Linked DNA regions of Homo sapiens: region 1 is linked to region 2. The links are contacts of gene promoters, found by promoter capture Hi-C in blood cells and fetal thymus (Javierre and others, 2016). All regions are on one chromosome and are shown on one strand. The core of a region is centred on a gene start or on the middle of the fragment in contact, and the rest is flanking DNA. Distances in the headings are between cores, read along the strand shown. Region 1 overlaps C15orf40 (chromosome 15 open reading frame 40). Region 2 holds the start of HOMER2 (homer scaffold protein 2).

What was found. Contacts are between HindIII fragments. The CHiCAGO score rates a contact against its expected background, and 5 or more counts as called.
Region 1: a contact is called between a fragment that was not itself captured here and the fragment with the promoter of HOMER2 in region 2, in 1 of 17 cell types (M2 macrophages). The highest score is 5.2, in M2 macrophages.

What each region holds. Positions count from the first base shown.
Region 1 is chr15:82,999,370-83,004,859 of GRCh38, forward strand. It overlaps C15orf40 (chromosome 15 open reading frame 40), which reads right to left. Exons shown (of 4, transcript NM_144597.3): 4 at 1-5,490. Among named protein-coding and RNA genes, the nearest start is that of C15orf40, 9.5 kb to the right of the region's middle. RefSeq lists a silencer at 1,048-1,342. The HindIII fragment of the contact is 2,175 bases long and covers 1,095-3,269 here.
Region 2 is chr15:82,951,022-82,955,934 of GRCh38, forward strand. HOMER2 (homer scaffold protein 2) reads right to left here and starts at 1,699. Exons shown (of 9, transcript NM_004839.4): 1 at 1,510-1,699. The coding sequence starts at 1,514. RefSeq lists an enhancer at 949-1,449. The HindIII fragment of the contact is 1,453 bases long and covers 885-2,337 here.

The DNA.
Region 1 (5,490 bases), core at 932-3,431, 49 kb after region 2:
TTTTTTTGGAGAAATGGGGTCTTACCACGTCGCCCAAGCTGGTCTCAAACTCCTGGCCACAAACTATCCTCCTACCTCAGCTTCCCAAAGTGCTGGGATTACAAGCGTGAGCCAACATGGCCAGCCTTACCTTTTACTTTTAAATTATGTTAGCCACATTTCAAGTGCTCAATAGCCACATGTGGTGTGAGCAGCTATCACGTGTACATGCCACCCAGTACGGCTGTAGAAGAGAACTAAAGGCTAGCTAGCATTTCTGTTGACTTGACTCACTCCCTTATTGTCCACAGTGCCCCAATCCCCCTAGGCATCTCTGGGGAAACCTAAGGCTTTGAAACAGTTTGAACGTCACTGCGATAGTAAAAACACATCACAGATTAGTTTTCTGTAGAAATGACCAGGGAGTACGTAACTTGTGGCTGCAAAGTTTGGGGATTCTTCCCTCCCCAAACTCTATCTAGGGGACCGATGGACCCTGAGGCAGACAGGATTATAAAATGCAAAAACCCTTAATAACTAAATTATGAGGATTGTCTGAGGAATGCCTATGTGGGTAGAAATAGGTGGTCTTCCTGCAACCTAGAAAAAGGGAGTTCCTGTACTATGAAGGATCATTATCTCCAGTGTTGTCCCAAAAGACCTTCTGTGGCTGGCTGATACCATAGGTCCATCCCTGCAGCAGAAATGGGAGCTATAGATGGTCATAGCTCCCTTACCCTGGCCCCTAATTTCCCTGGCTCTGATTCCAGGCTCTCCAAGCAGCCTTCAAATGATGATTCTCTTAAAGAGATTTCCCAAAGGGACAGAATGTTCTCACTAGCAGATCCCACTATACAGTCTATTTGGCAGTTGTGTTCTTCACTCAAGTTAATAAGCTGGCATCTTGATAAGAAATTAGCTCCTTGCCAATTGCCCAGCCTAGATCCATTTTCAGAAACACTGGCTACGTGGATTTCTGAAACCTGCAGAGTTAAGGAAGGAACTCAAGACCATGCTGACTCCACCATGGCAATGGGCTGAGACTCTCACGAACCCAGCTGGCCCCAAGTTAACAACACTCCGACCTGAGCTAAATTTAAGATACAAGGGGACTAAGCTTAAGGAATGGCTCTGAGAAAACGAGAAGGATCACAGCATGTGAGCCCGTAGTCAGGCACTGCAGACTACCTAATAGTGCTGTTCACTACAAAAGGAAACGAGTTTCAGTTTGTGTGGCTTTTTGCTGTTGTGTTATGGTGCCACCTCTTGGATGTAAATTGAAATTCTAAGTTTTTAGTCACTAGTTACATGCATTAAAACAATTTGAATTTGGGGCCATGTGGGTTCTAAAATTTATACTCTGCATTACAGCTAAAGAACTATGTAACCAAATCCCTGGAATCTAGGAGGGGGATGCTGACAGCCCACAGCCCAGAGAGCTGCCTCCTAAAGTTTGAGCATTTAGGTATTTGGAACTTTATTTTTCAAGATGGAATCTCTGTCGCCCAGGCTGGAATGCAGTGGCATGATCTTGGCTCACTGCAACCTCTGCCTCCTGGGTTCAAGCAATTCTCAGGCCTCAGCCTCCCAAGTAGCTGGGACTACAGGCATGCATTGCCATGCCCAGCGAATATTTGTATTTGTAGTAGAAACAGGGTTTCGCCATATTGGTCAGGCTGGTCTTAAACTCCTGACTTCAAGTGATCCACCCGCCTCAGCCTCCCAAAGTGCTGGGATTACAGGCATAAGCCACTGCACTGGCCTAGGTGTGCACTGCAAAGGTTCCACCTTCATCCTCTGGTTATTGCTGTCCCTCCCCTAACCGAGAGGAAAGTGTGGAATGGCTCACAGAAATCAGAAGTCTGAAATCTCTGCTCCTGCCTCCAGGGCATAATGAGCCAGGCTGTTCTTTCCCAGGATCTGTCGAAGTACAGCATAGGCAAACCACCTAGCAGTGTCTGTCAAGTAAGCAACCAAGTTAATAAGTGATTAATACATCATGTTTGCACAAGTAATTATCATTTATTAAGGTGCGGGTGATAGATGACAGATGCAGTGCTAGAACATCATATGTCGGCATAGTTGGATAAATATTTTTCAAACCTTATTCATAGGCTGCTTCAAATCCAGGATTCTCAGGACAGCACAGGACAAGAAAGACAGTGTAATCAAGTCACTATAGACTGCCTAGCCAGTACTCACTTGAAATTAATGGGAGTGAGCAAAGCTAGAACCATGTCATTAGACAAATGTTACGGAGGCTGAATATTTTGTGTCTTGGGCACTAGGTCACTGGGTCTACTTCAGTATTTACAGGGGAATACCAGGGCCCAGATGATGAAAAGTACATTAACTGAGCTTCTACAGCAGGTCAAGGTGCCCAAGCCTTAGCTGTGATCTCTTAACAGTAGGAATAGTCCTGTGTGAGACAATTAAGTTGTGAGGCTGCTGTAGACTATCTTGTTTGCAGTGGGGAAAAGGGAATCGTGTTCTGGGAATACAGCCCCTGGGCCAGTTCCTACCTCCAACAGTAGTTTGTTTTGTTTTGTTTGTTTCTGTTTTTTTGTTGTTGTTATTGAGACAGAGCCTTGCTCTGTCACCCAGGCTGGAGTGCAGTGGTGTGATCCCGGCTCACTGCAGCTTCTGATTCCCGGGTTCAAGCAATTCTCCTGCTTCAGCCTCCCAAGTAGCTGAGATTACAGTCATGTACCACCACGCCCAGCTAATTTTTGTAATTTTTAGTAGAGGTGGGGTTTCACCATGGTGGCCAGGCTGGTCTTGAACTCCTGACCTCAGGTGATCCACCCACCTTGGCCTCCCAAAGTGCTGGGATTACAGGTGTGAGCCACCATGCCCGGCCCCAAAGTAGTTTTTGATGACAGAGTGTCCCCATATCTTCTTTGTTACAAGATACTGCTACGTTTCTCAAAGAAAAAAACTCACTAGGCAAAATGTTCCCACGTTTAAAATATCACCGTTTAAAATGAAGTAAATAGGTTATCGTAGTAGAAACTGGTGGTTCCTCTCCAGCATCCATTCCTCTCTTTGTAACTTTTCCCAATTTTATTCAGGTATCCAACTCTCTCTACTTCTTTGCTTCTGAGTATGCTGACCCCATTTCCACCTCTAGGATGGGCCTTAATTGGCCTGAAACAATTAGGGTAATTCTTTCTTCTATAGTTACTGCTTTAGGGAACTTGTGTTATAGAATGGCATTCCCTGATCACAGGGGCTGGCTTAGAAATTTCATGTGACTTGATTTGGGCTGATACAAGGGAAGGCTGACTGAAAGCTTCTGGAAAATACCAGAGCTCCTAGGAGTGGCCTTTTCTCCTACTGCAGGGGTTGATACGTGAATATGAAACCTGGTTGGCCTTTTGTCTACATGAAACAAGTGGGCCTGAGGATGAAACTGGCACTGCAGAAGATTCAGGGGAAGGAAAGAAAGCTGATTTTTTTTTTTCTTGAGACGGAGTCTGCCTCTGCAGCCCACGCTGGAGCGCAGTTCGCAGTTGTGCGATCTTGGCTCACTGCAACCTCTGCCTCCAGGGTCCCGGTTCACAAGCAATTCTCCTGCCTCAGCCTCCCGAGTAGCTGGGATTACAAGCATCTGCCACTATGCCCAGGTAACTTTTGTATTTTTAGTAGAGACGGGGTTTCACCATGTTGGCCAGGGTGATCTTGAACTCCTGACCTCGTGATCTGCCTGCCTCGGCCTCCCAAAGCGCTGGAATTACAGGCGTAAGCCAACACGCCTGACCAAAAGTTGATCCTTTTTTTTTTTTTTTTTTTTTGAGATGGAGTTTCGCTCCTTTTGCCCAGGCTAGAGTGCAATGGCACGATCTCAGCTCACCGCAACCTCCAACTCCCGGGTTCAAGCGATTCTCCTACCTCAGCCTCCCGAGTAGCTGCAATTACAGGCATGTGCCACCACGCCCAGCTAATTTTTTGTATTTTTAGTAGAGATGGGGTTTCTCCATGTTGGTCAGGCTGGTCTCGAATTCCCGACCTCAGGTGATCCACCTGCCTTGGCCTCCCAAAGTGCTGGGATTACAGGTGTGAGCTACCATGCCCGGCCAGGAAAGTTGATCTTTTATGATATCATTTTATGACATTCTAACAGTGATCCATGTAAAATCCACAAGTAAAACGGCTTTACAGCACACATGGCAATGGTCTTGAGAAAGAGTGGGAAAAGCTCTTAAGACCATGTAAAACAGAAGCACATTTGCAGGCAGTATATGGCACAGTTTAGAAGACAAAGCAGCTGGGCTTAAACCAAGCTCTGCCATTAATGTGCACTGTGATCTCACATAAGCCACCTTTTCTTGCCCTTGATACCTATTTGGTACAAGTTAAGAGTTGTACTAGACGAGTAGCTTCTCTTTCACTGTCTGGGATTTTTTCTTTCTTTTTGAGACGGAGTCTCACTCTTGTCGCCGAGGCTGGAGTGCAGTGGCACCGTGTGGGCTCACTGCAACTTCCGTCTCCTGGGTTCAAGCAATTCTCCTGCCTCAGCCTCCCGAGTAGCTGAGATTACAGGCACCCACCACCATGCCTGGCTAGTTTTTATATTTTTAGTAGAGATGGGGTTTTACTATGTTGGCCGGGCTGGTCTCAAACTCCTAACCTCAGGTGATCCACCCGCCTCGACCTCCCAAAGTGCTGGGATTACAGGCATGAGCCACCACACCCGGCCTGGACTTCTTATATATGAGGTCTTATATATAATCTTACATATAAATATATATATCTATGTATAAAATCTATCTATGTATATCTATCTATCTATAAAGAAAGAGACAGAGACAGATACAGGGTCTCACTTCGTTGCCCAGGCTGGTCTCAAACTCCTGGGCTCAAGTGTTCCTCCTGCCTCAACCTTCCAAAGCGCTGGGATTACAGGCGTGAGCCACCAAGCCCAGCTACCATCAGCAATTTTTATTATTGTTCTTCCTTGTGGATTTTGTTTTTAATGATTTGGTCCATCAATACATCTTTCTCATGTACTTGCTGGACAAAGCGCACAACTGCAGATCAGCTCTCCTGATCAGCAAAGGAAATTAATTTTATTTTCTTTAATAAATTACTATAACTTGACCTGAAGATGTAAAAATATATTATTAGCTTTTGAAACTTTAATATAGATGTAATTTCTGACAAGCTTTTACAAATACTGAAAATAGCTTCCAAGTCCTCTTTCTTCTTTTAAGGATCTTTGGAGATTCATAAAAACTACTGAATTTGCTGATTATTTAAGTTATTAGAGGAAGATGAAAATTCAGTGACTTCTCAAAAATTATAATTCACATTTAATTACAAGTCATGATTTTTCTTTACTTTTTCAACAAAATGGTAAATATAGTCTTTAAAAGATGTAAAAAAAAAATTTTTTTTACATTTAAATAAGCATTTAAAAATCTAAGGTAAGACTACAAAGCAGCATAACAGGTTTTCTGTCACTTGTAAACTGGATTAGAAGGCAATCCCCAGAATTCCAGAACCGTTGTG
Region 2 (4,913 bases), core at 449-2,948:
TTTTTCCCTGTACATTTTTTTAAAGTATGAAATCTGAGAACCTCAAAGGCTCTCACTGCTCAAAGATCAGCCTTTTCACAGTCCACTGAGGACTCACTGGAAATGTTACAGAAATACGGCCTGCCAACTTGGGTGCCTCTGGGTAAAATCACCCACAGTTGCTGTTCATGTGAAATCTCCTAAATGTAAGCACACTTCTTCAGCCCTCGCTGCTCATCTCGCCTCCTCCTCTCTGTCACCCACCTCTGTCATGTCCAGTTCATGTTGGCCCACAGCCCTCACACTTCCATTCCTCAAAATTCCTCTTGGCCTGCCTCTGATCCCCTCACACACTCTGCAGCTCCCATGGCTAAGACTCACCAGGCAAAATGACTCCAGAAACTTAACCTGGAGTACGGTGCAAGAAAGCCACTGACCCAGGGGGGCTGAGCCAGGGCACCAGGACAATCTTGCTCCTTCCACTGCACTCTTGCCTTCCCAGGCCCCACCCATCCCAAACAGGAAAGCAAGATCTCTAGACCCTTGGAGCAGAAGCATTTGAGTCCTGCGAAGGGCTGTTGGAAGAATGCTGGGTTCAGCAGCAGGGAACAGAGAGATTTAGGAATTCTGGTTCACTTACCCGCCTCCATGCCCACGTCAGGCAGTGGCAAGGCCACCCCTGCTACACAAATGCTCATCAACTACACAGCCTGGGGGAAGTCACCGAACCACTTTGTGCCTCAGTTTCCTCATCTGTAAAGTGGACATAAGTGTCCCCTGAATACGTATGGCAAACCGTCAACGTGTGCCCAAATAGAGTGAGCAGATGTAAGGAGTTATTGTGCTATTAGCACAGTGGCTCCCAGACTCACAGAGCCTACTGCTCAGAGAGACGCCGAGGGGAAAGCTTAAATTACTTTATATACTCAGAAGCATTAGTCACTTCGACAGAGTATTTCAACTTCCCTCCTGAGCATCTACTCAGTTGTTTCAAAGACTGAAGCCTCACCTAGGTTCCTTATAGACTTCCATCATCTTCAGCATCTCAAAGCAGATCCAAAGTCCACTATTCCTACGCTGGAGGTTTATTATTATTTGATTATTTCCAGGAAAACTTCGATTTCCATTTTGCTTGTAATAAATCCAAACGTGGAGAACGACAAACTGCTTAGACTCACACAGGCCCTGGAGTTGACTGCGCCCAGGGGCGAAGAGACCGCGGAATGGCCGAGGCAGGAGGCCGGCCAGGGCACCGGTCCCCGTCAGGTGCCCCCGTGCCCGGGCTGTATGGGAGGGGAAGGGCCACGGGCTCCGCGCCCAGGCCAGGGTGCCCCTGCTGGGTGTCCGCGTGCCCCGGCGGAGGGCGCGGGTCAGGTGGCCCCAGACTCCCGGGCGCAGAGTGTGCGCTCGCTCCGGCTTGGGGAGGCGGGGGCCGGCCCGCCGGGAGGCTCCGAGCCCGGTTACGCCAGCCGCGGCCCCGCAGTCCCTCCGGAGGGGCGCGCGGAGAGCGCGCGGCGCGGGCTCACTCACCCCATCTCCGGCGCTGCTCCGGCGGCCGCTCCGACGGGGCCTCTCGCGCTCGCTCTCCGCCCGCTCGGCAGCCGCTCCCCGCGCGGCACATGCGGCGGCCCGTGCGCGCCCGGCTCAGCCCCGGCGCCGCTCCATTCCGCGGGGCTGCGCGGCTGCCACTGCTGCCACTGCCGCCACCGCCGCCAGGCGCGGGCGGGCGGGGGCTGGGCGGCCGCGCTGGGGCGGTGCCCGCCCCGCCCTCCCCAGCCGCTACCCCCGCCCGGCTCCTTACGTAACCTCGTGGCCCCCGGGCCGCGGCAGCGAGCCAAGAGGCGGGGGGCGCAGCACTGTGTGCACCGTCCCCCGCGCAGCCGCGCAGTCGCCGCTTTTCTCCCGGGCCACCCAGTCCTCGGTGCCGGCCCCGCGTTGGCGCGCCCCCGCCCCACGCCGACCCGGGGCCCTGGCGCAGTGCCATCAACATCCTGCCTGATGGACTTAAAGTCCCATTCACACCTGGCGGGGACTTTAGGGCTACCTTTACTTTGCAGATAAGGGAACCGAGGCCTGGGGAGGGTAAGTGATTTGCCCAAGGTCACACATTCAGATTAGAGTTCGTTCGGGTCTCCAGAGTCTGAGATGGGCATAGCTGTGCTCCTCCTTAAAGCCCACCTTCATCTTCCTGCCAGTTGCCCGGCCGAGTGGCCTTAAGGTACCCGCCACCGTGAAATTTCGGAAGCCAGCCTGGCAGAGAAGAGCCTACAGGCCGCGGCAGATGCTCTGGGCTCTTTCCTGGATAAAAATGAGATGAGGGCTCCCACTTGAAGGGGCAGTTTTAAGGCGGCTTCATCAAGCTTGGTTTTATCCTTAGAGCGAGGGGAATTAGGATGGCAAAAGTAGAACTTGAAGAAGAGCAGGCTCTCTTCGTCGCCTTTCTACCTATCAGGTCCTGAGTTTCTACCAAAGGCTGGCACTGGGACTAACCTAACCTTCATCCCCCGGGACTTCCACGGGATCATCTTCTGCTGGGAACACACCGCCCACATAAGCCTGGCATCTCAGGACAGTAAAAAAGTCAAGGGACAGGTCGGGCGCGGTGGCTCACGCCTGTAATCCCAGCACTTTGGGAGGCCGAGGCGGGCGAATCACGAGGTCTGGAGATCGAGGCCATCCTGGCTAACACGGTGAAACCCCGTCTCTACTAAAAATACACACACACAAAAAAAATTAGCCGGGCGTGGAGACAGGCGCCTGTAGTCCCAGCTACTCCGGAGGCTGACGCACAAGAATCGCGTGAACCTGGAAGGCGGATCTTGTAGTGAGCCGAGATCGCACCACTGCACTCCAGCCTGGGCAACAGAGCGAGACTCCGTCTCAAAAAATAAATAAATTAATTAATTAAATACATAAATAGCCGGGTGTGGTGGCGTGCTCCTGTAGTCCCAGCTACTCCCAGCTACTCGGGAGGCTTGATGCAGGAGAATCGCTTGAACCCAGGAGGCAGGGGTTGCAGCGAGCCGAGATCATGCCACTGCACTCTAGCCTGGTGAAAAGAGCCAGACTGTCTCAAAAAAATAAATAAATAAATACAAAATAAGTTTGTAAAAAATAAAATAATCTTGGGAGTTTCCAAATCCTCCATGCATAGTAATCAGCAATATCAGGAAAGTGAGCTTGTAGAACACTGAACAAGTCATTTATCAGGTAATACCTGAGGATTCTGAAGTGTTCGAATAACTTCAAAGGCAAGCCACTGAAATCAGAGTTTTTCATTTTTATTTTATTTTTATTATTTTTTTTTTGAGACGGAGTCTCACTCTGCTCACCCAGGCTAGAGTGCAGTGGCAGTGGCGTGATCTCGGCTCACTGCAACCCCCACCTCCCAGATTCAAGCGATTCTACTGCCTCAGCCTCCCCAGTAGCTGCGACTGCAGGCGCATGCCACCACGCCCAGTTTTTTTTTTTTTTTGTATTTTTAGTAGAGACAGGGTTTCACCATGTTTCGATCTCCTGACCTCGTGATCCACCCGCCTCGGCCTCCCAAAGGGCTGGGACTACAGGCATGAGCCACCGTGCCTGGCCGAGTTTTTCATTTTTTTAAACTACAATCCACAGTAAGAAATATATTTTACACTACAACCTGCAACCTGGTACATACTTCAGCACATACATACTATGTCTATAGGTATATCGATATAAAATAGAAACAAAAAGTTATATAAAACAATGTTTATCCTCTCACTTGCCAGGCAGGCATTCAGACATCATTCTGTTTTGTTGTTGTTGTTGTTGAGACAGAGTGTTGCTCTGTCACCAGGCTGGAGTGCAGTGGCATGATCTCAGGGCACCACAACCTCCGCCTCCCAGGTTCAAGCGATTCTCCTGCCTCAGCCTCCCAAGTAGCTGGGACTACAGGCGCGCACCACCACCCCAGCTAATTTTTGTATTTTTAGTAGAGACAGGATTTCACCATGTTGGCCAGGATGGTCTCCATCTCTTGACCTCGTGATCGGCCCACCTCAGCCTCCCAAAGTGCTGGGATTACAGGCGTGTGCCACCGTGCCCGGCCCATTCTGTTCTATTTTTAAAAGCAGTACTGCTCATAACCTACTAAATTGATTTCAAAACCTATAATCTACGTATTTTTACTTTCTTTTTCTTTTTCTTTTTTTTTTTTTTTTGAGACGGAGTCTCACTCTGTTGCCCAGGCTGGAGTGCAGTGGCGCAATCTTGGCTCACTGCAACTTCTGCCTCCTGGGTTCATGCAATTCTCCTGCCTCAGCCTCCCGAGTAGCTGGGGCTACAAGCGCATGCCACCACACCTGGCTACTTTTTTGTAGTTTTAGTAGAGATGGGGTTTCACCATGTTAGCTAGGATGGTCTCGATCTCCAGACCTTGTGATCCGCCTGCCTCGGCCTCCCAAAGTGCTGGGATTATAGGCGTGAGCCACCATGCCCGGCCTGTATTTTTACTTTCAACAGCAAAATTAGGCTCACCATGTACATGCATAATGTTGTTATTAGTGTGCTCAGATTTCTGGTATGGCTGGTCCAGGGACTTCAAACATTTTTTTTTCTAACCATAAAAGGTCAGTTCTTTCAACTGCATATGAAACAAATGTATTATTAAAGCCATTAATTAAAGGGATAACTGTCGGGTATTATGCAGCTATTACATTATATTTGTGAAGCCTATATAGTAACATAGAAATATATTTATTCTTTCAATAAATGTTGATCACCTGCTGTGTATCTGGTACTGTGTTGGGCATAAAGTGCTCAGCAAAACAGACGTCCTTCTGTCATAGGACTATAAGATTGTGTGAATGGTATTAATCAAATAATCACACAAATATATAAGCTACGATCTGTGTGAATAGGAGACCTAATTTAGGTTGAGGAGGATGGTCAGGAATGGCCTGTTGAAG